3 separate regions of the Homo sapiens genome follow, and all the other regions are linked to region 1. Evidence: promoter capture Hi-C in human tissues and cell types (Jung and others, 2019). All regions are on one chromosome and are shown on one strand. The core of a region is centred on a gene start or on the middle of the fragment in contact, and the rest is flanking DNA. Distances in the headings are between cores, read along the strand shown. Region 1 holds the start of ADRB3 (adrenoceptor beta 3). Region 2 overlaps LSM1 (LSM1 homolog, mRNA degradation associated). Region 3 overlaps ADGRA2 (adhesion G protein-coupled receptor A2).

Region 1 (3,360 bases), core at 613-3,112:
GCCTGGGCAACATAGCAAGACCCCATCTCTACAAGAAATTTTAAAAATAGCTGGGATTGGTGGGGCTCGCCTGTAGTCCCAGATACTCAGGAGGCTGAGGTGGGAGGATCGCTTGAGCCCAGGAGCCAGGAGTTCAAGACTGCAGTGAGCTGAGATCGCGCCACTGCATTCCCGCGTGGGCGACAGAGACGAAACCCTGTCTCTATTTAAAAAAAAAAAAAATCCCTAAAGCCGACCAGGCGAGGCGAGAGTCCTCGGGACACCGCAGCGCTTTCCGGTGGCGCACCTTGGGTCCTTGGGTGAGGAACGACGGCCCGCTCGCCCTCCTTTGCTTCTACCCTAGTGACTGGATCCGGAAAGAAAAGGACCCTGGGTCCCATTTTGGTTCGCTACTCCTCGTTCCCTTTTCTCTCCAAGCAAAGCCATCCCACCTTCTCTTAATAAACTCCACACTCAAAAAGTTGACCCACGGACACATCGCATGCTTCCCGACCCTGAGCCGCCGGTCCCTCTGCCCCGGTTACCTACCCGTCGAGCCGTTGGCAAAGCCTGGGCTGCGCTGGGCTGCTCCGGGCCGCAGGAACGCCCGAGGGGAAGAGGGCCGGGCGGGCGGCGGCGCAGGGCTCCGGAGGCAGGCGACGGCCGCAGCGGCACAGAAGACGGCGGAAGGCGCTGCGAAAGTCCGGGCTGCGGCAGTAGATGAGCGGGTTGAAGGCAGAATTGGCATAACCTAGCCAGTTCAGGGCAAGGAAAGCCGGGCCCGGGACTAGAGAGGGGCCCCCCAGGGCGCGCAGCACGTTGGCCAGAAAGAAGGGCAACCAGCAGAGAGTGAAGGTGCCCATGATGAGACCCAAGGTGCACAGGGCCCGGTGTTCCCGGAGAGGCAGGAGGCGCGCGGGCCGCCGGCCGCAGGCGGGCACCCCTTCGGGCGGAGCGCACGTCCCCACCGGGGCCGGGGCCAGAGAGCGCGACGGCGCCGGCGGAGACTCCTCGGGCGGAAAGCGGCCCAGCTCCCCGCGCAGCAAGCGCAGCTGGCGCGTAGCCACCACGAAAACCCGCGCGTAGACGAAGAGCATCACGAGAAGAGGAAGGTAGAAGGAGACGGAGGAGGACAGCAGCACGTAGGGCATGTTGGAGGCGAAGGCACAGCAGCGCGGGTTGGAGTGGCAGCGCTGCGCCTCGGCGTCGGCCCCTACGCGCCACCACTGGCTCATGATGGGCGCAAACGACACCGCGGCCGACACGACCCACACCAGGACCACAGCTGTCCGGGCGCAGCGCTTGGTGACCAGTGCGCCGTAACGCAGCGGGTTGGTCACAGCCAGGTAGCGGTCCACGGCCAGGGCGCACAGGGTTTCGATGCTGGCGGTCACACACAGCACGTCCACCGAGGTCCACAGCTCGCAGCCAGTGGCGCCCAACGGCCAGTGGCCAGTCAGCGCCAAGGTGGCCGCCGGCGGCACCACCAGGAGTCCCATCACCAGGTCGGCTGCGGCCAGCGAAGTCACGAACACGTTGGTCATGGTCTGGAGTCTCGGAGTCCAGGCGATGGCCACGATGACCAGCAGGTTGCCTCCCACGGTGGCCAGCACCGCCAGCGCCAGCAGGGCCCCGGCTAGGGCCGCCTCCCACGGAACCCCTGGCAGCCCACTGGTGTTGGCGGTATTGGGCGCCAGGGTGGGGAGGTCCGGCCATGGGGCAAGAGAGCTGTTCTCGTGAGGCCACGGAGCCATCCCCGGGTCGCGCGTGGGGCGGTAGGGAAAGAAGGAAGGAGGGGGTCTCCCAAATCACCTGGCTCAGGGGAGGGGACAGCAAGGCATGAGAGCGACTTCCCCAGCCTGGGCCATCTTCTCTAGCTGTCCCAGCCAGAGCGCTCAGCCTCCCCCCACCCCAACTCCCTCGGTGCCACCGCTCTTGGGGGAGGAGTAGCGACGCTTAAAGGGGCAGCTGCCTATAGTCTGGAGGGGCCTCTGGAGCCGAATTGGAGAGTGGGGAGGATGGCCAATGGGATGCTCCACGTTTCCTTTAGCTAAATCTGGAGGAAGGGACACCGTGGTTCCTCTGCCACCATCTGTCCACCCCTGCCGTGGCCAGGCTCCTGGACTCAGCATAGCACTCCCTGGGCACTGGCTTCCTGGAGCCCTGCACCTCCTTTCCCAGAAGTTCCCACAGCAAGGCAGGGGAAGGAGAGAGGAGAGCGCTCCCATCCCCACCCTTTATGTATCAGAGGCAAAGGTAACCCGCTGGAGTCAAGCAAAGGATTCACAGGAGCCCCGCATCCACTTGGGTGGCCTCCCCTAAGGTATTTTAAATTAAGTAATAGGGCTCAGCCAGTATCTCCTCTCCCAAGACCTCAGCTTGGTGAGATCTGTCCCCTTTCCCTTCTGTTTCAGTTACCTTCTCTTTCCTTCTAGCTTTTTGTTTTTTTTAATATTTTCAGGTACTGAGGAAATTTACCATATTTCAAGTCTCTCTCTCTCTCTATTTTTCCCAGGCTGGCTTTGAACTCCCGGGCTCAAGCCACCCTCCTGTCCCAGCCTCCTGAGTAGTTGGAATTGCAGGCGTGAACCACTAGGAGGCTCAGGAGTCTTTTTCTTTTTCTTTTCTTTTTTTTTTTTTTTTTGAGACGGCGTCTCGCTCTGTCACCCAGGCTGGAGGCTGGAGTGCAATGATGTGATGTCTGCTCACTGCAATCTCCACCTCCCGGGTTCAAGCGCTTCTCCTGCCTCAGCCTCCCAAGTAGCTGGGACTGCAGGCACCCGCCAGCATGCCCAACTAATTTTTATATTTTTAGTAGAGACGGGGTTTCACCATGTTGGCCAGGATGGTCTCGATCTCCTGACCTCGTGATCCGCCCGCCTCGGCCTCCCAAAGTGCTGGGATTACAGGCGTGAGCCATCGCGCCCGGCCAGGAGTCTTTTTCATTGCTAGCTCTGGATTTGCATTTGGATTTGGCACTATGTAGTCTGGGATGCTGAAGAATTTCAATTTCTCCATCTTCCCCACTCTGCACTGCCCCTTCCATGCACCTTTCCACCTAGAGATTTTCTAGATAGCCCCTTCTCTTAAAATCTTTCTGCTATAAAGACATATTAAAAATGGATGAATCAACAGGTGGGCGCGGTGGCTCACGCCTGTAATCCCAGCACTTTGGGAGGTCGAGGTGGGCAGATCACCTGAGGTCAGGAGTTCAAGACCAGCCTGAACAACAAGGAGAAACCCTGTCTCTACTAAAAATACAAAAAAAAAAAAAAAAAATTAGCCAGGTGTGGTGGCGCATGCCTGTAATCCCAGCTACTCAAGAGGCTGAGGCAGGAGAATCTCTTGAACCTGGGAGGCAGAGGTTGCAGTGAGCCGAGA
Region 2 (3,360 bases), core at 254-2,753, 210 kb after region 1:
CACCACATTGGCCAGGCTGGTCTTGAACTCCTGGCCTTGTGATCCGCCCACCTCGGCCTTCCAAAGTGCTGGGATTACAGGCGTGAGCCACAGTGCCGGGCCCCCAAGCTTTCTAATTCTGGGGAAGGCTAAAATTTCAAATAATCTTCTCCTATTTCATTGAGTAAGACGTACCAGTTAGGAGATGTCTGGGATTATGTTGGGCTAATACATGAATGACAGCAGAAATAAGAGAAATAAATTCCTTTATCAGTTAATTGCTAATACCAAAAAAAACCATAGGAAAATATAAATGAATAAGGAACTTGGAAAACTTGGGCCTAAACAACCACAGAGATCAAAACTTTTGTTTTCTGGAAAGAAACAGCTTTTCTTTTTGTGTGGGTGTGTATGTGATGATCTGCTGAAGATTCAACTTTCTTTTAGTAATTAGGATTCATTTGACCCAACGCAGGTATCCATGGGTTATGATACAGCAAAAACCTATTTTTTCACCTTGACAGATAACTATATTTGTAATCTAAAAGTCAACTTAATAGCCACTACCCTTCCCTCAAAGTACTCTGATGAATCTGACTTAAGAATCAGGACTCCAATTTGTTAACAATAATTATTTTTCCTCTTTCAATTAGTACTACTTGTCCTATTTGAAGTAAAGGAGAAATCTATGTTCATATCTTCCATAATCCTTTTAAGTGTTTTAATTACGTTTCTTCCTCATGCTCAAATCCAGTGATTTCGCAGATATCCAATAAATGTTAGCATGAACATGAAGTTCCTTGAAACAGAAGGAAACATAATCTTTTAACTTAAGAAAAATGCAGGATGCGAAACAAAGACAGAGGCCTCTTATTCCAATGTATCCCTATATGTAAAGTATTAAGCTTAATGTTGGGGTCCTTAAAATAAAGGAAATGCCTTCTACCCAATTTTCATTGGCTAGGGAGGGATTACCTTCACTTCCGGAACTGCTTTGAAGTCATTTTACCCTGCCAATGTAGAAATAAGCAGCCTTGGGCCGGGCACAATGGCTCGCGCCTATAATCTCAGCACTATGGGAGCTAAGACCAGCCTTCCAGCTGTCCCCACTGATGCACCAGACATGTGAGTGAAGCTCCTTCAAACCAGCTGACTCACCTTCTAGACACCAAGGGACTGTCCTAAAACCATGAGGAGCAGAACAACTGCCCAGCTCAGCTGGGTGGGTGGATCACCTAAGGTCAGGAGTTTGAAACCAGCCTGGCCAACATGGCGAAACCCCGTCTCTACTAAAAATACAAAAATTAGCTGGGGGTGGTGGCTGGAGCCTATAATCTCAGCTACTTGGGAGGCTGAGGCACAAGAATCACTTGAACCCAAGAGGCGGAGGTTGCAGTGAGCCAAGATTGTGCCACTGCACTCCAGCCTGGGTGACCGAGAGCGCGTCTAAACAAAAAACAAAACAAAACAAAACAAGCCTCTTCGGTGGACTGAGTTTATTTCTATCATTTGGCTCCCCCTACTGGGGATTCTACTGAAAGCCAGTTTTAGAAACGAGCTTGGAAATATATATAAGCTTTGAACCACCTAATCTGAATGTATAGAAAACAATGATGTACTCACTAAAATCAGTCCTACTAGGTCACACACGTGAAAAAGTTGCAGATAAATTTCAATATTAAATAACAAAAAATGCAATGGGCTGCTGTTATTATCCAGAGTATAAGAGATGTCCATAAATTAATACATACCAAATTGATCAATGCTTCTTAAAAAGCCTATAAGTGTCCTTCCATCTCGAAGCAGAACCAAGTGCTTTTCTGGGGAGAGAGGAAAAAATCTTTTAAATGAAAACTGACAAGTTCAGCGAGTATTTAGGATAATAATTAACAGTTTAAGCTGTACCACTTCCTCGGCCAATGCATTTAATGTGAAGTTCAAGTTCATTGGAAAACTGAAAAAAGCAGCACAGCAACGCGGATTTAGATAACATCAGTAGTGAAAAGAATCAGAGCAGTGTGGCAGAGTGGGAAAAGGACAGGGCGTGGCACCAGGAAGCCTGACTAGCTGGCTCTAGACCCTTATGTTGGTTTTTTTTTTTTCCTTTTTTCTTTTTTTTTTTTTTTGAGACAGAGTCTCACTCTGTCACCCAGGCTGCAGTGCAGTGGCACAATCTCGGCTTACTACAACCTCTGCCTCCCAGGTTCAAGCGATCCTCCTGCATCGGCCTCCTTAGTAGCTGGGACTACAGGAGTTTGCCACCATGCCTGGCTAATTTTCATATTTTTAGTAGAGATGGTGTATCACCATGTTAGCTAGGCTGGTCTCAAACTCCTGACTTCAGATGATCCATCCACCTCCACCTCCCAAAGTGCTGGGATTACAGGCGTGAACCATGGCGCCTAGCCAAAGACCCTTATGTTTGACACTTAAACCATCTCATGTCATGTCAGTTTTTATATCTGTAAATTGACAAATTTAATCTAGATGACTATTATCTTATTTGTAGAATTATTTTGTCCTCAAAAGATGAGCTTCTATCTCACATTTTGTTTGTAACCATAGAAGGCTTTAAATAAAAACACAATGCTTCAGGCATTTAAAATGAAGACTAATAATAAGCTAGAGCAGAAATTCAATGTTTACTGAGGGGGCATGTGCTGTTCTGGGGTCTAGACATACAGTAGAGAATGAGACTTAGAAAGTCACCAACCTTATGAATTTATATTCATGTTGGAGGAGGACAAATAAATAAGAAAATAACCTATTGTGATTAGGACAATGGAATAATAAACTAGCAAGGCAGTATGATGAAGGGAGAGAAGTGGTTACAGAAGGAAGGGTGGCAAGGGAAAGCCTCTCTGAAGAGGTGACTTTGAGCTGACACTGAAGAATGAAAATAAGCCAGTTACTAGCGCACCCAGCAAAATTTCTTTCATTCCATGCCTAAAGTACTTTCTAGATGCAGAACAGAGGAAAAACACAGTGACTCTGCCCTGAAGGAATTTATACTCTTCCTTGCGCTATAAATAAGTACCACAGAAAGCAAATCTTAATTATATGAGACTACAGAGAGAGAAACTGTATTTCTGAAGGAGGTATCAGAGTTGGACCTTAAAAGGTAGATAATTTTAGGGCACAAGAAGAGTGATAGGAAGGGGGCGGGGGGGGAGAAGGAAATCTGTAAATTAAAGAGGAGGAAAAAAGGGCTATACATCCATGTTTAGCTAAAAGCTGAGGGTGTGAAGGGAAAGAACAGTAGATAAAGTCAGAAAAGTACTGGGCGCAGGCTGCATCTGGATTTGACTTCATAGGGAACAAGAAAACATTAAGTGATGGAGTCTGTTTACTGAGTTTGTATAAGTGGGTATGTGTGAGAGG
Region 3 (3,360 bases), core at 541-3,040, 130 kb before region 1:
GAGGATCTCCCAAGGCCAGGAGTTGGAGACCAGCCTGGGCAACAGAGAGACCTGGTCTCCACAAAAAATACAAAAATTACCCAGGAGTGTTGGCATGCGCCTGTGGTCCCAGCTACTCGGGAGGCCAAGGTGGGAGGATCACTTGAGGCCTGGAATTTGAGACTAGCCTGGGCAACATGGTGAAACCCCATCTCTAAAAAAAAGTTTTTAATTAGATGGGCATGGTAGCATGCCTGTAGTCCCAGATACTCAGGAGGCTGAGGTGGGAGGATTACTTGAGCCCAGGATTTGTAGGCTGCAGTGAGCTGGTTGTGATGCTGCACTCCAGCCTGGGTGACATAGCAAGAATCTGTTCCTCTAAAAAAAAAAAGAGAGAGAGGTGGCTTTGAAAAAACTGAGGATTGAAGGGGAGGACTACAGCCTGAGCAGGCCCATTGAGAGAGATGTGCAGTCCCAAGCAGAAGGCCACCATCTCAAATGGTGGGATGACAAGGTCCCTGTCCCCAGAATGCGAGGAACGTGGCATTGGAGGCCTACCTCATCAAGCCGCACAGCTACGTGGGCCTGACCTGCACAGCCTTCCAGAGGAGGGAGGGAGGGGTGCCGGGCACACGGCCAGGAAGCCCTGGCCAGAACCCCCCACCTGAGCCCGAGCCCCCAGCTGACCAGCAGCTCCGCTTCCGCTGCACCACCGGGAGGCCCAATGTTTCTCTGTCGTCCTTCCACATCAAGGTGGGCGCTGGGGGAGGGAGAGGGGGTGGGAGAAGGGAGGCACTCAGATGCAGGTGCCTGGTGGGGGCAGTGAGAGGAGGTGGGAGGAGGGGGCTGCAAGACATCAGTGCTCTAGGGGGTCCTGGTGTCTCTGAGGAGCTCCTATGTCCCCCCAGAACAGCGTGGCCCTGGCCTCCATCCAGCTGCCCCCGAGTCTATTCTCATCCCTTCCGGCTGCCCTGGCTCCCCCGGTGCCCCCAGACTGCACCCTGCAACTGCTCGTCTTCCGAAATGGCCGCCTCTTCCACAGCCACAGCAACACCTCCCGCCCTGGAGCTGCTGGGCCTGGCAAGAGGCGTGGCGTGGCCACCCCCGTCATCTTCGCAGGAACCAGTAAGGGACTGAATTCCCCGCCCCGCCCAGGGTGCCTCTCGTGTGTCCGCCCTGTTCCCCTTTATCCTGCCCTTCCCTGGCCCACAGCCCCCCAGTGCCGTAGTGGAACTGACACAGGATGTTGGGTCTCTCACCTTTTCCCAACAGGGCAGAGGGTAGAGATACCCCATAAAGAAAGGGTCTGGAGGAGAAAAGCCTCAGGAAGACATTGCCTTCTATATCCCAGATTTGTTCAATTTCAAGAGGGCTATGAGCATAGCCCCCTCCAACACACACACACACACACACACACACACACACACACACACACACACACACACACACACACCCCACAGGCCCAATGCAGACAAGTAATGCTGAATAGGTGCCTGCTAGAAACAGCACTGTCACTGGTGCTGGAAGGAATAAAAACATCTAGGCCATAGTCCCTGCTCCCAGAGGCTACCTAAGCAGTAGAGGGTGAAGTAACCTCCCAGGGCAGCCACAGGAGAGGTTCCAGGCAGCTGCTGCACAGGCAGCCCAGGTGAGAAGCATCCTGAAAAGGCAACATGGCTCCAGCTGTCATGGCGGAGGTGGGACTGACACAGATGGGCCTTGAGGGATGATCAGGACTTTCAGAGACACCAAGGAAGGGCGGAGACCAGGGCAGAGGAATAACAACATGAGCAGAGGTGTGGTGGGTGGGAGACACCGAGTGTCTGACTCGCCACCCACCTGGGGGCCTGGCACCCAGAAAGCAGATGGATCACCTGCAGTCCCCCTTTTGTCGTTCCATCTCTCCCCCGGGACCAGCGACCCCACACCTGCCTTCTTTCTGCCAGTGATTCCACTGTTACTCCCACCATCCACGCTGACACCAGCCCATCTCTGGCCCCCACACCTCCACCTTCAGTCCATCCCTCATGCCGTCACCAGATTCACCTTCTGCAAACTGCACTTTGCACGTCAGAGAGCCCCTTCAAAGTCTTGGGTTGTTTCCCATCATCAGGACGTCTGCCTCCCTCCATGAGCCCTCTAGGGTCCTAGCGATGTGGCTGTACCCCCTTTGCCCAGCCAGAAGGCACTGCCACCCCACCGTGGGTTCCATCCTGTTCCTAGCACAGACTCTTGCTGTCAGGTCTTGCATTCTGGCCAGGGACACTCACTGAGTATCTGGTATGTGCCAGACTGTGCCTGAGCTGGGACACACCTGTGCACAGACAGTTACGGCTGTGTCCTTGAGGAACACACCCTTCAGCAGAGAGGACAGGCAGTGGACAAGTCGTTGTAAGTGCAGCTCGTTGTAAGTGAGCAGCAGTGAAGAGCAGCTCGTTGTAAGTGAGAAGCAGTGAAGTGTTTTGGAGGGCACAGGGATGAGGGACCACCCAACCTAGCTGGAGGCCAGCGAGGCCTTTCCCGAAAACCACTAAGACTTAAAGGACAAGTAAGGTGGCCTGAGGAAGGTGAAAGCCCTGTGTCCGCAACCGCGTGGGCTGTGGGAGTGTGTGGGTTGAGGCGGGTGGGTGAGGGGTCTGTGGAGCCCAGGGCCTGCTCCGGGAGCCCCTCTCCCACTGGGAACGCCTCCTCCTAGTCCTCTCTCCATCCCGCCCGCCTCCCTCCTCCCTCCTCCCTTCGCCTGGCTTCTGTTCCCTCCATCTGCATTTCTGTGTTCTTGTCCCTGAGCCCCCGCCAGCCTGAGTCCTCACCATGGAGCATGACATCACTGCTCATCCAGCACTCAGGGTGGGCCACCACAGAGGGCTCACATTTTCCACCATCATCCGCACCCACCCCCTCCAGGGTCCCCCATTAGACTGAGGCTGTCCTTGGCATCTCACCGCATGCCCCCAGCCCAGCACTGTGCCCTGCCTGGCAGGTGCCTAGTACACACCCTGTCACTGCTGCTGCTGCTGAGTCCCGGCTGAGCCCACCTCCCTGACACCCTGTGTGTGTCTGTGTGGACGTCCCTCTCCCGCTGTAGGTGGCTGTGGCGTGGGAAACCTGACAGAGCCAGTGGCCGTTTCGCTGCGGCACTGGGCTGAGGGAGCCGAACCTGTGGCCGCTTGGTGGAGCCAGGAGGGGCCCGGGGAGGCTGGGGGCTGGACCTCGGAGGGCTGCCAGCTCCGCTCCAGCCAGCCCAATGTCAGCGCCCTGCACTGCCAGCACTTGGGCAATGTGGCCGTGCTCATGGTGGGTGTGAGGAGGGGTGACAAGTCGGGGGGGCAGGGACACGGGCTGGGTGGAAAATGGGGGTGGGTGTACTCTGACCATTTGGGA

What was found. The method cuts DNA at HindIII sites, captures the fragments that hold promoters and counts their contacts. A contact is called where the count stands out against the background at its distance.
Region 2: a contact is called between a fragment that was not itself captured here and the fragment with the promoter of ADRB3 in region 1, in 1 of the 25 tissues and cell types used here (bladder).
Region 3: a contact is called between a fragment that was not itself captured here and the fragment with the promoter of ADRB3 in region 1, in 1 of the 25 tissues and cell types used here (H1 embryonic stem cells).

The regions. Positions count from the first base shown.
Region 1 is chr8:37,964,737-37,968,096 of GRCh38, forward strand. It overlaps ADRB3 (adrenoceptor beta 3), which reads right to left and starts at 1,863. Exons shown (of 2, transcript NM_000025.3): 1 at 529-1,863. The coding sequence starts at 1,733. RefSeq lists an enhancer at 862-1,596. The HindIII fragment of the contact is 25,598 bases long and covers 1-3,360 here.
Region 2 is chr8:38,170,235-38,173,594 of GRCh38, forward strand. It overlaps LSM1 (LSM1 homolog, mRNA degradation associated), which reads right to left. Exons shown (of 4, transcript NM_014462.3): 2 at 1,731-1,799. Among named protein-coding and RNA genes, the nearest start is that of LSM1, 4.6 kb to the right of the region's middle. The HindIII fragment of the contact is 4,514 bases long and covers 1-3,360 here.
Region 3 is chr8:37,834,667-37,838,026 of GRCh38, forward strand. ADGRA2 (adhesion G protein-coupled receptor A2) reads left to right here. Exons shown (of 19, transcript NM_032777.10): 12 at 508-732; 13 at 888-1,104; 14 at 3,065-3,273. Among named protein-coding and RNA genes, the nearest start is that of BRF2, 14 kb to the right of the region's middle. The HindIII fragment of the contact is 5,878 bases long and covers 1-3,360 here.